Regions from separate parts of the Homo sapiens genome. Here regions 1, 2, 3, 4 and 5 are each linked to region 6. The links are contacts of gene promoters, found by promoter capture Hi-C in blood cells and fetal thymus (Javierre and others, 2016). All regions are on one chromosome and are shown on one strand. Each heading gives the region's core, a stretch centred on a gene start or on the middle of the fragment in contact. The rest is flanking DNA. Distances are from core to core; before and after follow the strand shown.

Region 1 (2,914 bases), core at 320-2,819, 1.9 Mb after region 6:
GCAGGCGGATTGCTTGAGCCCAGGAGTTGGAGACCAGCCTGGGCAACATGGTGAAACCCTGGCTCTATAAAGAATACAAAAATTAGTCGGGCCCAGTGGCGTGTGCCTGTGATCCCAGCTACTCGGGAGGCTGAGGTGGAAGGATCACCTGAGCCAGGGAGGTGGAGGTTGCAGTGAGTCATGTTGTTTGCGCCACTGCACTCCAGCCTGGGCAATGGAGTGAAACCCTGTCCAAAAAATAAAAAAATAAAGCTGTGGCAGAATGTGGAGATTCTTGGAAGCTGGAAGCTCTCATGGGGCATTTGGAAACCTCACATTGTAAATAACGGAGTCTTTTTATCAGTTTGGCTTCCTTAGTTTTAGGAAACAAGAAATAATTATGGCTAACTCAAGTAAAAAGAGAAAGAGAAGAGAAAAAAGACGTGGAGATAGAGAGAGAGGGAGAGAGAGGAAAAGACGAAAGGAAGGAAGGGGGAAAGGAGAGAGGAAGAGAGAAACAGAGAAACAGACTGATTAGTGTATTGGATAGATTACATAACCAAGTGACCAGTCAGGAACCCAGCAGCTCTGGGGGAGCTCAATGTGATGCATTGATAAACCCGCTCTTAAGAGCACTCGTTTCCAGTTACTTTCTATTCGGTGGGTCTCCAGCCAAGATTCCAGGTCCCAGGAGAATCTGACTGACCTAGTGTTTGCTTCCGCCTTTGCGGTCTGGGTTCTGTGCTTGCAGCTCATTAGAATACAGGGAGCAGAGACAAGCAGGTAGTTTCCCAAAGGAAGGGATGCTGAGTAGATTAAAAAAAAAGTGTAGATTCTTCAGTAAACTATGGGATGGTAACTATGCAAAACCTAAGATTTCCCTTATTCAAATAAATTATCTTTCATATTAGACATCTAAATATGCACTAATTTAGTTAAACCCCTGGGTTAGTTGATCTCATCACACTGAGCTAACATTTTTGTTGCTGTTGTTTGCAGTGACCTGAAGTTTCTTATCTTCACAATTGCTTTCCTCTCAAATAATTCCCAGATTTTAAATTTTTATTTTATTTTTTCTGGAGACGGAGTCTCGCTCTGTCGCCCAGGCTGGAGTGCAGTGGCGCGATCTCAGCTCACTTGCAGCCTCTGCCTCCCGAGTTCAAGCGATTCTCCGGCCTTAGCCTTCCAACCAGCTGGGACTACAGGCGCGCGCCCCCACGCCCGGCTAATTTAATTCCCAGATTGATATCCATTGCTTCTGAGATGGGCCAATTATCCTTCGGAGAAGACTTAGGTCGCCTGGCAGAAAAAGATGAAAGAAATCTAAGAAAACGACGACACTGAGAGAGGAGCCTAGCGAACCAGCAGAGCGACCCCAAGCCGCAATTCCCCCTTCCGTGGATCGATTACGAAGGCTTCCTGGCAGGAGCTCTCCAGGGCTGCCGACGTGAGCCGAACTGCACATTGGGAACTGTAGTTGAGTGGGAAAGCCGAGAGGCGGGGGCCGCACACGCGTACAGGGGCCCCGGTCAACAAAGACGCGCCGTGCGCGCGCGCGCCGGAGAAAAACACGGGAAGACGTGCGCGTGCGCGGCCGCCGCTGGGAGCCACCAGGCGGCGGAGAGGACAGCGACAGGAAGGGAGGGGCCCGAGCCACCGACTGCAGGAGGAGAAGGGGTTGTGCTCCTGGCCGAGGAAGGAGAAAGGGGCGGGGCCGGCGGGCAGCGTGCGGCAGTGCGGAGCTCCTGAGACCGGCGGGCACACGGGGGTCTGTGGCCCCCGCCGTAGCAGTGGCTGCCGCCGTCGCTTGGTTCCCGTCGGTCTGCGGGAGGCGGGTTATGGCGGCGGCGGCAGTGAGAGCTGTGAATGAATTCTCCGGGTGGACGAGGGAAGAAGAAAGGCTCCGGCGGCGCCAGCAACCCGGTGCCTCCCAGGCCTCCGCCCCCTTGCCTGGCCCCCGCCCCTCCCGCCGCCGGGCCGGCCCCTCCGCCCGAGTCGCCGCATAAGCGGAACCTGTACTATTTCTCCTACCCGCTGTTTGTAGGCTTCGCGCTGCTGCGTTTGGTCGCCTTCCACCTGGGGCTCCTCTTCGTGTGGCTCTGCCAGCGCTTCTCCCGCGCCCTCATGGCAGCCAAGAGGAGCTCCGGGGCCGCGCCAGCACCTGCCTCGGCCTCGGCCCCGGCGCCGGTGCCGGGCGGCGAGGCCGAGCGCGTCCGAGTCTTCCACAAACAGGCCTTCGAGTACATCTCCATTGCCCTGCGCATCGATGAGGATGAGAAAGGTAACTAGGGGGCTGGGGGAGGGGGCGGCGGCGCCGGGAAGAAGGCGGTGGGGTCGCCGGGGGAGGGCAACACCTGCGTCCCTTTTCTGCGGGAGGGGACGGTGCACCCCCGGAATTGATATGCCCCGGGAGACTGCTTTCCCGTAGGTCGGAGCCTCATCTTCTAGTATTCTTAAAACCTCTCCCCTTTCAGGGCACTGTAGCTGTCGACTTTGTTTCAGACACCAGCCTTCCCCCACACTTCTGCATGACCCAGGTCACTATGAGACACCCAGACGTGTTGATGACAGTGACATTTGTCCTAGAGTGACCACACTGATCCTTTCTAGCACTGTGAAGAGTGTGCAGCTTCCTCTGAACCAAGGTTTCCAAAAGGTTTTGATATTGAAGAAGCAGTGCCGCCTTACTGGCTTTTAATGAAAGCAGAGTATTGTAGTGTCAGAAAAAAAGAACAAATGGTGACAATTTTGAAAGAAATAGCTGCATATGACTGCAGTTGAATTTGCATCATTTTAATCAAGATAATCATTTTATCAGTACAACGATTCCTGAATACTTTTTCAATGAAGTTATATTTAGCATAAAACTTTTCCCCCTGTTGCTTTGATTTTAATTAAAACAGTATTCCAAAGTAGCCTTTAATTTCCAAGTTGA
Region 2 (2,744 bases), core at 245-2,744, 1.1 Mb after region 6:
GAGATGGAAAAGTCTTCTGTTTCATAGTGTCACCCCTAAGAACCCAGAGCAAACACCACAGATATCACTACTAAAAATTATATTCCTTTGAGTCAATGAGCCATCCTCAGTTAAGACACAAATGAAGTGAAAGAAGTTGCTCACTAACTTATTAGGTGCCAGCATATTAAATAGCTTATTAAATATTACAGCTATTAAATACTAAGCTTATTCAATAGTTTATTAAACAGCTTCTTAAATAGGATATAAGGCAGTGCCATGTAGTGGATAAAAGTAATAATCATTATAATATTAAGAACTAATACATACTGAACACTTTCAATGGCACTTTACATGCACGGTCCCTTTAATCCTGAAAAAATGCTATTGCCATCTTTATTTCAGAGACCAGGGTGCTAAGGCTTGAGAGTGAAGCCACTTTCCCCAAGCTCACACAGCAAAGACACGGGGACACCAGGACTCCATCTACTGCAGGTTGTCTGACTGGGAACCCCCATGCACCTGGCAGGTGACAGAAATAGGAGGCATGTGCTGGGTTTGGAAGAGACACCTGGTGGGAGAGGGCCCTGTGGAGCCAGATGGGGCTGAAAACAAATGTTGAATGCAAGAAAAGTCGAGTTCCAGGGGCATTACATGCAGCAGGATATGCTTTTTAGAAAAAGTCCAAAAACACTAAACTTCAACAATATGTTCTTTTGGCTTGCATTTGTGTATAACCGTAATTAAAAAGCAAGGGGACAACACACAGTAGATTCAGGATAGGGGTCCCCTCTAGAAAGAAGGAGAAGGGGCAGGAGACAGGATGGGGAGGAGCACATAAGTAGATGTAAATTGCTGCTAATTTTTCTAGTCCTTGGTTTGAATGATAGGTTCATCAAGGGTCCATTACAAAAACATGTGTTAAGTTTTTTAAAAATATAATAAAGGAGCCAGGTGTAGTTTGTCTTGAACCACAGTTATGAAAAAAATTCCAACTTTGTGCATCCAAGGACCAGATTTTTTTTAAAATAAAGGATAAAAGGAATAAGAAATGAACAGCCAAGTATTCACTATCAAATTTGAGGAATAATAGCCTGGCCAACATGGTGAAACTCCATCTCTACTAAAAATACAAAAATTAGCCAGGTGTGGTGGCTCATGCCTGTAGTCCCAGCTACTTGCGAGGCTGAGGCAGGCTGAGAATCTCTTGAACCCAGGAAGTAGAGGTTGCAGTAGGCCAAGATGGCGCCACTGCACTCCAGCCTGGGTGACAGAGCAAGACCCTATGTCCAAAAAAAAAAAAAAAAAAAAGGAAAAGAAAAAGAAAGAAAACAGTGTATATATAGTATATAGCTGAAGCTCCCTGTGTACCCATCCCCAATTCCATTTCCCTTTTTTGTCCCAGAGAACACCCCATTCCTGACTAGTGTTTTATGTTCCTTTGCTTCTCTTTTTAAAAACTTCAATGCACACATATGCATCCATGAACAACAGATAGTGGTTTTTGCATGACCTGAAACATTAATGAAATTGTATGATTCTATGCATAATAGCCTACTTCTGGCTTTATTCACTCAACACCATATTTTGGCATAGGTAGCACCACTTCCCTCATTTTTCTCATCTGTAGAGTATGTATTTTTTGTAACTTTCATTTTAGGTTCGGGGGTACATGTGAAGGTTTGTTATATAGGTAAACTAGTGTCATGGAGGTCTGTTGTACAGATGATTTCATCACCCAGGTGTTAAGTCTAGTAACCAATAGTTCTTGCTTTTTGTTCCTCTCCTTCCTCCCACCCTCCACCCTCAACTAGACCCCAGTGTGGTATATATTTTATATGAATGTGGCACATTTATCCATTTACTCGGTGAAGGACATTTAGTTGTTTATAAATTTTTGCTGCTACAAATAATGTTGCCATCAACATTCTTAAGACTTATCTCCCTATGCACATGTGCAAGAGTTTCTCTAGATCACGCCTTGAAATAGAATGGAAGGAGATAGGTCATAGGACATGCACATCTTCAGCTTCACTAAGCAATGCCAAACTGTTTCCCAAAGTATTTGTGCCAGCCTGCACGCCCATCAGCATTTTATGAGAGCTCCCATTGCTCTACATCCTCACCAACCCTACCATCCAACTTTTTATTCTTGCCATTTTGGTGGGTATGGAGTGTTAGTGTGGTTTGGCATTTCTCTAATTACTAATGAGATGCAACATGTTTTCTTGCGTTTATAGGGCATTCATGTAGCCTCTTGTAAAAGACATTTTTGTAGCTCTTGCCAAGTTTTTTTCTATTGGAATGTTTGTCTTTGTTATCGATGCACAGCCATTAGTTCTATATTCTGGATGTGCTTTCATGGGTTTTTGTGTATAGGAAATATCTTTTCACTCACTTTTGTATTTTTAGTTGAACGAAAGTTTTAAATTTTGCTAGTGCTAAACTTAGTTTTTTTCATTTTTCAGTTTGTGCTTCTGACGTCTTGTTTAAAGAACTCTTCCTGACTTTGTGGTGATATATATGCAATCTCTATTGCAACTTCTGTATATGTCAGGCTTCCAAATTTCCTGGCTATTTACTGTGTTGTTATTCTGTTGGTCTCTGTGCCAAAACCATATTAACCACTGTAACTCCATAACAATGTCCACTAGGGCAAGTCCTCTTCGCTTAGTTGTTGCCATTGCTATGTTACTGTTGTCCTCTTCTCTTCTCTGTTCTCCTTTTTCTGCCCTCCTTCCCCTTCCACCTCTCCCTCTCCTCCT
Region 3 (2,700 bases), core at 17-2,516, 1.1 Mb after region 6:
ACCTGCAGAGTTCTGCCTCCTCACTGCTTATGTCACACCCCATTCCCAGGGGCAGCTGTACCCAATGACTGATCAATGAGGGCATATGAAGGTCTGGCCCCCTTGCCCCAACCTGGAACAGTTCTGAAGGGACATCCCAGCTTCAGAACTCCTTATAGGGTCAGCTGAGCCTTTGTGATTGCATTAGAGCCCAACTGCTCCCTCTGCCCAATCTTGCTTCTCTTCCTTCCCAAGTGTAAAGCCAAAGCCACTCTCTAATAAACGTTTTGCATGATGAACTCCATCTCAGAGTCTGCTTCCCAGGGAACATGACCTGCAACACTGTCTATGCTCAATAAATACTTGTTGGCATTAATGAACAATCAATTGCTCGATGACAAATCCAATCAGAGGATGGCCTGCTGGGGATTACTTAGCTGACCATGTGAATAGGTGCAGTGGTCTTGCCAGAAAATATGTACCACATGGCACCAGATCCTTGGCAGGCCACTTTGAATCACTGGGAGAAGATGGAGCCATGGAATGTGCAGGACTTCTCCTGTGAAAGTGGCCCCAAAGTTACCCCTTGGGCAGCTCCAGCCAGAGGGTCATTCTTACAGAATGATGAGAAGGACCACAGGGCTCATTCTGTGCAGAATGAGACCATTGCTCAGATTGTTCCACCTGTAGTTTCTTATTTTCTTAGAAAAGGCAAATCTCGCCTGTTATAGGACATGCCACAGCTCAGAGAGACAGAAGTTGGCAGATGAGAGAGAAGGCATCCTTTCCTGAGGTGCAGCTCCAGCCCCAGCTTTACATAAAGCAAGCATTCAAGGGAGGGACACTTCCTTAGAAATGAAATTGATGAAGATACTGCCCTTAAGCAGCAGCCTAGAACAACTGCATATAAAAACTGAGACTTTCTAACATTCAATCTAAAAGCCCTAATGACAAGGATGAGACAGTTTCAATTGCAGACTTGTAGGATACAAAAGATCAGTGGATGACAAAGAACGATGACAACAAAAGACCTGAGGGGGGTCAGGATACCCACAGCTGGTTTCAAAATCAAAGTGACTATGGATTGGCAGCAGGCCTGGAACACTGCTGGTGATAGGAGTCGGAGAGCAGTGCGGTTTCCATGACCAGTTGTCAGTGTCTTTCCTGGCACATACCCGGGGAACTGTGGCGCATTCACCTCAAGACTAAGGTTTCACCAGTTCCTCAGTGAAGAGGAGTCAAATTTAATATCAAACCCATATTGTATCTTATATATAGTTTATTATATACATAAATACATGCTATAAATAGTTAACAGTTTAGTAAACCACAAAGATCTTATTCCATATCCTCAATCACTTTACCATCTTTGAAAGGTCTTGAGAAAAAGAATTCTCTGCAGATACTTTTAAATGAATAACAACCTGGCCATAGTGAATTCCAACTGGTCTTCGTGGTGAGGATCCTAGCGGTTGGAGTTTGTAAGCAACACCCCTCACAGAATATGCCTTTGGAAATCTGTTCCTGATTGTGTACGGCTAGGCTACAAGACCTCAGGATCTGGGGGCCGAACACGACCCAGGAAATCATCATGTCCCCCCAAATCTCAGACAGTCACTGATGAAGTTGATGAAGTTCTGTCTCCTTGTGACGGTCCTTGGCCACTCACATGTCCAGACCAATTACTTCTGGATGCAGTATCTTCCAGCAATGACTGTCTAGTCGTTATAATATTATGCCTTTGAAACATGCACAAAGAATTGCATCTGAAAAGCAGTTAGTCATTATATATTTGTCAAAACCCACAGAATGTACAACACTAAGAGTGAACCCTAGGGTAAACTGTGGCTTTGGGTGACAGTGATGTGTTAGTGTAGATTCTATTGCAACAAATGTGCTTTCTGGAGCGGGATGTTGATAATGAGGAAAGTTGTGTGGGGTGGGGTACAAGGGATATATGGGAACTCACTGTACTTTCTGTTCAACTTTGCTGTGAACCTAAAATTGCTTTAAAAAGTAATGTTTGTTGGCCAGGTGTGGTGGCTCACGCCTGTAATCCCAGCACTTTGGGAGGCTGAGGCAGGGGGATCACCTGAGGTCAAGAGTTCCAGACCAGCCTGGCCAACATGGTGAAACCCCGCCACTACTAAAAGTACAAAAATCAGCAGGGCATGGTGGCAGGTGCCTGTAATCTCAGCTACTTGGGAGGCTGGGGCAGGAGAATTGCTGGAACTTAGGAGGCAGAGGTTGCAGTGAGCTGAAATCGTGCCATTGCACTCCAGCCTGGGCCGACAACAGCAAGACTCAGTCTCAAAAAAAAAAATTTTTTTTTTAAATTATGTTTATTAATTAAAAAAAGAAAGAAATCATGGTCCTTTCTGTCTGTACAGGTGGACTTCAATGTCTATATGTAGCAGTAAAGGAAATACTGTCTGGCATGAGCTCTGGGTCACTGGAGTTGGGCACTCTGGCTCCTTCTTTCCCATCAAAATAAAATTAAAAAATAATAAAATCAATGACTGCTGGATATCATGGTGAGAGTTTCATGTTTTGAGCTGGGGTTTGGGGCCTGATTATTTTATTAATTATCTGCTCATCTGGGGAGCCCTTGGTTTCCTTTCCTGTGAGCCCCTTCTCTGCAACCCACATCGGTTCTCTTGTTCAGAACTACCTTCCATCATGGCTAAGCTTTGAGATCATCATGTCCTATCATTTCCTTTT
Region 4 (2,700 bases), core at 192-2,691, 1.1 Mb after region 6:
GAGATACCGCCATTCCTAGATCTGCACCTAAGTCCAGGCCAAGTGAACAACTAAATATCCACCCTACAGATGACACAGCCTCGGGGTTAGCCAGGAGCAGGGAAGTCGAGCTTCAGAGCAACCCATGGAGTCATTGCTTGATGGTCATGGTCTTCACAGCCACACCTGGCTGGAAGCTTCTGGCATTACTGAGTCTGTAATTGGATAGCAGCTTTCCAGAGCAAATAGGAGGCCTCTGCTTATAAAATCACGGAAAGAGTTCCCAGAAGCCCTTGGCCTGTCCTCAGGCAGAGGCAGACTTCACACAGGCATCCCCGAGGCCTGTAAGACAGCAGCCTGCAGCCTCTCTCTCTTGCTGTGCCTGCAAAGGGTCCCTTGTAGCTAATCTCCATCCATCCTGTTGTACTCCCCACCCTCACACCTCTGGTCTCAGATGCAGAGAATTGTGAACCGAGAAAGGAAGCTCGGAGGTTGTCCAGCTCAATCCCCTGATTTGACAGGCAAAGAGACAGAGGACTAGAGAGGGGAGATTCTTGCCCAAGGACACACAGTAAGTTAGTGGCTAAGCGGAAACGAGAGGTGGACTCACCCAGGCCAGTGCTCCTCTGGTGACTCCTACAGAGCACATCCCATCTCATAGAAACTAGGGCTTAAAAGGAGTGCTTTACAAAAAACAGCAGGGCAATGAGAACAGCCAAGGTCACAGCTCAGCAGTTTCACCTGCATCCTCTGATTTGTTTAGATCCTCACAATAACCCTACGACTGAGTCACTGATTCCTCAACCATAAAACTGAGGCCCAGAGATTACTCATTTACTGTCTCCCAGATGCCAAACGTGGAACAGGTTTCCACGTTTTCCACGTTTCACTTCCGTTCAGCAAATACTGATAGTGCACCTGCTGTGTGCCACACACCGTGCTGGGTGCAGGGGAAGCCCAGAAGGGTGAGGTGCTGCCCCTGCCCTGTCCAGCTCCCAGTGCACCGAGGATGATTTCAGTGAGCTGAAGAGCAGAACAGGAGCGTGCATGATGCTACAAGACCACTGAGGGCAGGGACAGGGATAGGCAGGGGTCTATCCTGTTCTGGCAGCATGGACATATTGCTGCCCCTCAGCCTTTGCAGACACAGCCTTCTCTTACATCGCTGGTGTCATCAGGGATTGCAGCAAGTTGCAGGGACAGAGCCTCTTCCCTTCTCTGCAGCTTCTCTGGTGTCTTTGTTTTCCCCAGCCTGGTGGAGGCGTGGCTACAGTGCAAGAGTTGAGTTTGGAGTTCAGGTCTTGGCTCTGACCCCCAGCATTGCATGGCCTTGGGCCTTTCTCTCACCCTCTATAAACCTCCATTACCTTGTCAGCATAGGACTCAACACTGGCTGCCCTGGCTGCCTTAGCCTGTTCTGAGCCATTGAGCCAATATATTGGGGCTGAGATTTGCTGGACAGGTGAGAGGGAGCTGCAGCCCAGTCTTGGTCCTCCCAGCAGCCCCTCCTGTGGCCTGCACTGGCACAGCTAAAATCCAGATTGGGGAATAAGGAGCAGCAGAAGGCCAGAGGCCTGGCAGGGAGTTGTGGAGGGTCCCTACTGCCCTCCTGCTGTGAGCTGTTTGCAGAGGTGGGGGTTGGGGATTTTCTTAGCCCTCTGGCCCCTCCCTACCCACAGCTCTGAGGGACTGCCTTTGGGAGGTGACAGCAGCCTTGCCATGCGCTGTGCTGAAGGGAAGATAAAAATAGGCTGGAGCCATCCCTGGGAAGGGAAGGATGGACAGAGGGATGTAGGAAGGAGGGGAGTAGTGCGGGCTGCAGGCTTCACCTGAAGTGGGAATGCTTAGGCTTCCCGGGCTCCAGTGAGGAGCTGGCTGTGCCTGCGTGCCAGGGAGGGAGGGAGGGAGGCAGGGAGCGGCCAGGTGCAGAACGGCTGGATGGCTGACAGCTGGGTCATCTGGCCTCACGACTTGCCAACTGTTTGACTCTCTCCTCTCTGAACCTCAGTTTCCTCCCCTGGAAGTGAGAACGATACTCCTCGCGCTGCCTGCCTCAGAGCGTGTCGTGAGGGTGACATGAGATAATGACATGAACATCTTACCGTCTGCAGCAAGCACTGAACTTCGAGTTGGAGGCTAGGGGTCGTGTCTCATGGGTGGTATTGGCTGAGTCACTTAACTCCTAGAGTTTGCGTGAACATCTCCGAGGGAGGGTTGATGATGCCCCTGCCCACTGGGCAGAGCAGCCTCTGAAGCACTTTCCTGGGCCTTGTCTCTGAGCCGAGACAGGACACCTGTGTTCAAAAGAGAAGGCAAAATCTAGTTCACACCAGGCCCTCGATGACGCACCCATCAGGAACTATCCTCAGGATGGCACCTGGAGATACTGGGCCAGCTCTGCCCCTTCCTGAGCCTCAGTTTCCCTATCTGTAAATCAGGAAGTTGGACCATTGATGGCTAAGCTCCTCGTAGCCTCATAGGTCTACGCCACAGGAGCAGGGGGAGAAGGCTCAGGTGTTAGTTGAGCTGTATATTCATTGAGCAGCTGACAGATCTTGGAGAAAATCACATGGCAATGGGAATGCTTGGAAGCACTTCATTTACCAAAGACAGAGGAGCTGAAAATGGAGTAGTACTGGCATCCGGGTAACCAAAGGAGGGTTTGACCTTCCTTTGTTTGTTAGAATTCTCTTACAGCCACCAGGGAAACATTACAGGGGT
Region 5 (2,700 bases), core at 1-2,500, 1.2 Mb after region 6:
TGTACCTGGTTGTAAACACATTTGAAACATGACTAACAAACCAGATAGTCCACTCCTGGGTATAATTTCCCCAATACATAGAACGATGTTAAGGAACTATAGTTCAAACAAAACACATAATTATGTGCTCTGATAAGGGATTAGAAGCAAATATCAAAGTTAAATATCATCATTTATGATTCTTTTGCAGGGAGGGTAATTCACTATGCTGGAATGGATACCGTATGAGTGTCCATTTACAAATAAGAATTTCTTGGTACGTTCTTGCGCTAGAAAATTTCTATTTTGTAGAGAGATTGCTATCGCACACTTACTACAAAGGACCGACGTTATCGTAATGAAACAACTAAATCAGTAGAAAGAATAGCTAAGGAGACTTGGCTTTTAATTCTGCCACAGCCACCTCCAGAATCCTCCGTTGCCTCCTCCCCACCATCCAGGTGGTAGGCTAGACTCAGCTTTCTCCACCTCAGTTCTACTGACATTTTGGGCTGAATAATTCTTTGTTGCAGTGGGCTGCCCTGTGCAATATAAGATGTTTAGCGGCATCCCTGCACTCTACCTGCCTGATTCCAGGAGCCACCACCCCTCCCTGAGTTGCAGCAACCAAAGAGATTTCCAGACATTGCCTAATGTTCCCTAAAGGTAAAATCACCCCCAGTTGAGGACCACTGGGGATTGTCCCTTCCAACTCTAAAATGTTATGCAATCCTTTGAGCAATACACATAGTTTTCTCAGAGCTTAGGTAAACAAAGTATGAAGAGCCAACAATGGCCAGGCAGACAGCTCAGGTCATGTGTGTGGCTACTCAATTGCTATCTCAAGAAAAGAGGAGCATTTGATGGAGCAATAGAGGAAACTGATAATGCTTTGACCAGGGATGTTATCTACTGTGAGAATGGGGCAAGTGGCTATGGAAAATGATTGAGGCTCCGGAGAAATTGAACGTATTGTCAAGATCAACCAAGCACACACACTTTACCTCACTACACTGGGTCTCAGCTCCCAATAGATTGGGAATTCCCAGCCACATATTACATTATAGCAGAGTGAGGATTCCCAGCCATACAATACCCAGAGAGTAGGGAGGGAAGAATGTGATTTGTTAGTAAGTTATGCAAGTAGAAAATGGTATATATCCTGTCATAGGGTGGTTCCCAAGAAGCAAAGCCTTAAAAGATGGTATAAACTCCCAGATGAGGGGACTTCTGTTTTAGCTGAGGGCAATTCTCAAGATAATAGGCAGATGTGTACTGTCAGCTGCCAACATTTAGAGGAACTAGTAACTCCCAGCCAAGGAAAAGGATTTGCAATAGTGTCTACTACAAGTGTATAGCATAAACATGTTTGGACACTAAATTTACAAAATTGTTGTACATAGGCTTGGAGAATCTTGGAACAGCAAGGTATTGACATTTATTAAGCACCTAACAACAGGTGTCAGATGCTGTGCTGAGTGTCTTTGTTTTCTTTTATTTTCTTTCTTCCTTTTGAGACAGTCGCTCTCTGTTACCTAGGCTGAAGTGCAGTGGTCTGATTTGAGGTGCACTGCAGCCTCAAACACCTGGGCTCAAGAAATCCTCCCGCCTCAGCATCCCAAGGAGCTAGGACTACAGGTGCACACCACCGAACACGGCTAATTAAAAATTTTTTTAGAGACGAGGTCTCACTATGTTGCCCAGGCTGTGCTGGGTGCCTTTCATTGACTATGTCATTTAACTTCACCACACTGACAACAGGTCTTATTCTCCTCCACTTACAAATGAGGAAACTGAGGCTCAGAGGGTGAGTAATGTTCCCAAGAGAAGAGAACTTATGAAAATACTGGAGCTGAGTAGAGCGTTTGCTGGCAGCCCTTGCTCTTTACACTTGAGCCCCTAGCTTAGCCCAGCATCTGGCCTTTTAAAAGGAACACATGGCATATATAGTTGAGGAAGGAGAAAACCTGATTTTGGGACTTAGGAACATGCATACCGAGTGCCTTGCAAGCCAATCTCCTCATCAGCTGAAGGCCACAAATTACCAACAACTTTACTACAGCCACATCTCCCAGAGGCACAGCACTCCTGGCCCCCAGCAGTGGGGATGGAGAATGGGGGGTGTTTCCAGATTAAAGTAGTGCATAGGAGAGCCCAGAGCTCCACACTACTACAGAACCACCACGGGACCATTGTCACCAATCCACAAAGGCCTATAAAGTACACAGGGTCCTGGCAGGAAGCCCTTGGCCCACTCCAAGAAGACAAAGAATACTTTCACTTGATAAGACTGATGGCTCTCAGGAGGATGGAGAAAGGGTCCAAGACCCCATACATTCTGCCATACATTCTGTACCCTGGGAAAGGCTTATCATTAAGCAACAATCAGGACTCCCTGGGGTGTGGAGGAAATGACCTTTGGGCCATTATCAACAATGCCTCCCAACCCCCTCGCCTTCTGGAGCTGCCTCCCACTCTGAAGTGACTGTTCTGGGTTTGGAAAGAGAAGCAGGGAGTCTGATTCCTAAGGCAGGTGCTTTTCTACTGACAATGAGCCAGGCATGTCCTTTCCCCTGGATTCTGAGACCAAGATGGAGGGATGGAAGAGAGTGAACAGGTAGAGAGATGGTTGTGATGGGTGTGTGAGTGTGTGTGTGTTCTCTCCAGGGCTAGAAGCCAACTGAAGTGTGTAATGCAAAAAATTAAGAGCCAGCACCACCC
Region 6 (2,739 bases), core at 80-2,579:
CAGTGAGCCAAGATCATGCCACTGCACTCGAGCCTGGGCGACAGAGCAAGACTCCGTCTGAAACAAACAAACAAAAAAACTTATCTCCTGGAAAACTCACTTATTAAAAGATAACTAGTCCTTTTGCCTTTGATGCTCAGGTAAACTTCAGACGAACTAAATGAAAATACTTGTGGATTTGGGGATGAGCGGGAGTCAAGTGCTAGAATTTGCTTAGCAGCTTCTCTTCCACCAATAATGACTTTAAACATGTTGCAAACTAGCCCCAAATGCTAACCTACATTTTTAATCTGAGAGGTATGCGTCATCAAATATTTTGGTTTTATCCCGAAAGTCAGCTAACAGAGATGTAAGTACCTGGGCAACTCTAATGGAATGAGAAGCAACATCTTCCATCTTAAGCATTGATAAGGGTTAAGGGAACAGCTGCTCTTTGCAATGAACAAATCTCACTCTCTGAGGCAGAAATTCGCCATATAGAAGACTGAATTTCTTCATCTTTTTGAGAATCATTTCCACTACCCAGAAAAAACATTCAAATGAGTTGTAAATAAAGTCAAGCGCAGTTGAAAAATCCTGTATCCACAGATGTTTCTTAGGAGTGCCTATGCGCTTAGACTCGAGGGCTAGGGGTTTGAAAGCAAAAGGCAGCCCTCTACCAGGGGTGGTCGGGGAAACGGCCTCCAAGAAACGAATTACACGGTGCACTTTAGTTACCTAGGCAGCTGTTTGTCTAGGAAACAGCTTATTGTTTTCATTTGTCATCACCGCGGCTCACTAGGTATCAGGAAGCTCGGCTCCAGCCGCTACCTGGTGACGCTAATGACGTGCGATGTCTCGCAGCTGCCGCAATTAGACAGGCCAAGCCTTCGCCTTTAAGAAGCTGACTCACGTGGATGCTGTGTTGTGTGCGCTCAGCTGAAAGGGGGAGGTGGGTCCCCAGACTGACTACATTGGCCGCCTCGAGAGAAGGGGCAGAGTTAGCCTCTTTGATTGGCTGTACGAGTCCGAGGTGCTGGGTCAGGGGCGGGGCGAGCTGTCGCAAGCCTGCCCTGGGTCTGCGGCTTCTGAGAGGGGTGGGCCGCGAAGCGGAGGGGTGCGGGAGTGGGGGAGGGTGAGCCAGAGAAGGGGCGGGGCCCCGCGAAAAAGGCAGGAGGCCGAGGACAGGGGCGGGGCCTAGAAATAAAGGGCGTTCTGGGCCAACCGGGAGAGCTGACTGCGGGGGGGCGGAGCCACGCCGGGTGACTGACGTTGAGGCCCAACCAGGGAGAGGCGGGGCCAAGGCCAGGGCCTGACTAAACCTGGAGACTCGGGTGGCCGAGGGGCTTCATACCAGCTGAAGAGCGACAAGCCGCTGGCAGCCGCGGATCTCACCGCCGCTCAGGGTGAGTCCCGCGGGAGGGGCTGGACTCGGGGCCGGTGGGGACTGAGGCGCCCGTTCGGGTCGGGCGGCTTCGAGGCACTCGGGAATCGGCCCAGGGTGGGGGGCCCAGGCAGGAAGTGCCTCTTCCTCGCCGCGCTCTTCCCGGGGTCCCAGAGCGGCCGCCCCAGATCCTTCAGGGTGGGCCCCGGCGCTGGGACCGCGGGCGGACGCGCGGGGCTGTTTGCTCTTTGTGAGGCCTGGCGCGGCGGCCGCCGTCGGCCCGCCCCCGCCGCGCAGCCGGGCGACCGGTGCGACAACAGCCGCAACCCCTCCGCGCGGCGCCCGCGCCTCCGCCCCGTTTCCCCGTCGCGTCCTCCGAGGCCCGCCGCCGAGGCCCACGGCGCCCCCTGGGCGGACGGTCTGGCCGCGACCCCCAACCCGCCGCGCCGCGCCGCGGCTGCCCCGCCCCCACCCGTCGCATAGTCGGGGGCGCGCCCGGTCTCCGCCCCGAATCCAAGTCGGAACTTGACCGAGTTGTTTGGGCCGCGATGACCGCACGGCGTGAACCGTCCTGAGCAGGGCCCACGCCCGGCCCAAGCGGCCCAGCCACCGGGCTGGGGCGGTGTCTCCCTTTGCCCCCTCCCCCCCATGAACGTCCGCCTCCCCCGCCCTCCTGCCCAGAGGACCCGGGACTGACAGCGCAGGGTGACGGTTGGGCAGCCCGCCGGGTGTCGGGACCAAGAGAGCCCCCCGGCCACCCGCTCAGCTGTTTCCTGCTCGTGTTTGTTGTGCCGAGGGAGGCCCCGCCGCCACCGCCGCCGCCGCGCTCTGCCGCCCCGGTCCCTCCCGATTGGCCGGCTGGCGTCACGTGGCCTCCATCAGCTGGGCCGGCGGGGGCGCTCGCGGGCCCCACTGCGGCTGCCGGGTGAGCCCACCCGGGGGTCGCCCGGGCCGGCCCAGCTCCGCCAGCTTCGGGCTGCGGCCTTCCCTCCGCTTGCAGTCGGGAGGGTGGGCGTGCCCTTGCAACCCCTTTCCTGTACCTTCTCTGCAGGTAGATGGGACAAATGAGTGTCCGGATCAGCGGGAGTGGGAAATTGAAATACTACAAAGATCTGTTTAATCCTGATACCAACTAATCTCCCTTTCAAGGGAGAGTCTGGGAAGCTGTACAGCTCATTTATTTTTAAACTTTTTCTGTTTACAGAGATCTGTTGGTAATCTGAGGATTTTTATTCTACGTCGTCTTGACAGATGGAAAACCTGAAGTAACTTCGGGCTAACCTTGTGTTTTTGGAAAATTAGTAGACTTGGTGGTGAAGAAACTGGGAGGAGTAGGATATTAGCTAACTTTGCATAGCCACATATAGAGCGTCGCA

The links. The method cuts DNA at HindIII sites, captures the fragments that hold promoters and counts their contacts. A CHiCAGO score of 5 or more calls a contact.
Region 1: a contact is called between the fragment with the promoter of SPAST here and the fragment with the promoter of YPEL5 in region 6, in 2 of 17 cell types (neutrophils and non-activated CD4 T cells). The highest score is 9.6, in neutrophils.
Region 2: a contact is called between a fragment that was not itself captured here and the fragment with the promoter of YPEL5 in region 6, in 10 of 17 cell types (total B cells, naive B cells, non-activated CD4 T cells and 7 more). The highest score is 12.4, in total B cells.
Region 3: a fragment that was not itself captured here is called in contact with the fragment with the promoter of YPEL5 in region 6 in 1 of 17 cell types (total B cells); the score reaches 6.0 in total B cells.
Region 4: a fragment that was not itself captured here is called in contact with the fragment with the promoter of YPEL5 in region 6 in 1 of 17 cell types (total B cells); the score reaches 5.3 in total B cells.
Region 5: a fragment that was not itself captured here is called in contact with the fragment with the promoter of YPEL5 in region 6 in 3 of 17 cell types (fetal thymus, naive B cells and total B cells); the score reaches 7.4 in fetal thymus.

The regions. Positions count from the first base shown.
Region 1 is chr2:32,061,987-32,064,900 of GRCh38, forward strand. SPAST (spastin) reads left to right here and starts at 1,570. Exons shown (of 17, transcript NM_014946.4): 1 at 1,570-2,260. The coding sequence starts at 1,846. RefSeq lists enhancers at 1,364-1,433, 1,482-2,282 and silencers at 1,654-1,793, 1,854-2,273, 2,304-2,433. The HindIII fragment of the contact is 15,667 bases long and covers 1-2,914 here.
Region 2 is chr2:31,228,410-31,231,153 of GRCh38, forward strand. It overlaps a transcript of CAPN14 not described here and the pseudogene RNA5SP90. Among named protein-coding and RNA genes, the nearest start is that of EHD3, 4.4 kb to the right of the region's middle. The HindIII fragment of the contact is 2,580 bases long and covers 205-2,744 here.
Region 3 is chr2:31,275,103-31,277,802 of GRCh38, forward strand. No RefSeq gene overlaps it. Among named protein-coding and RNA genes, the nearest start is that of EHD3, 42 kb to the left of the region's middle. The HindIII fragment of the contact is 2,798 bases long and covers 1-2,665 here.
Region 4 is chr2:31,255,575-31,258,274 of GRCh38, forward strand. All of the region lies in intron 3 of EHD3 (EH domain containing 3), which reads left to right. LOC124905983 (a long non-coding RNA gene) reads right to left here. Exons shown (of 4, transcript XR_007086270.1): 2 at 2,082-2,273. Among named protein-coding and RNA genes, the nearest start is that of EHD3, 23 kb to the left of the region's middle. RefSeq lists enhancers at 633-1,460, 1,546-1,595. The HindIII fragment of the contact is 2,535 bases long and covers 175-2,700 here.
Region 5 is chr2:31,327,010-31,329,709 of GRCh38, forward strand. No RefSeq gene overlaps it. Among named protein-coding and RNA genes, the nearest start is that of XDH, 86 kb to the right of the region's middle. The HindIII fragment of the contact is 2,930 bases long and covers 1-2,700 here.
Region 6 is chr2:30,145,678-30,148,416 of GRCh38, forward strand. YPEL5 (yippee like 5) reads left to right here and starts at 1,330. Exons shown (of 3, transcript NM_016061.3): 1 at 1,330-1,385. RefSeq lists silencers at 934-1,513, 1,544-1,713, 2,004-2,443. The HindIII fragment of the contact is 10,963 bases long and covers 1-2,739 here.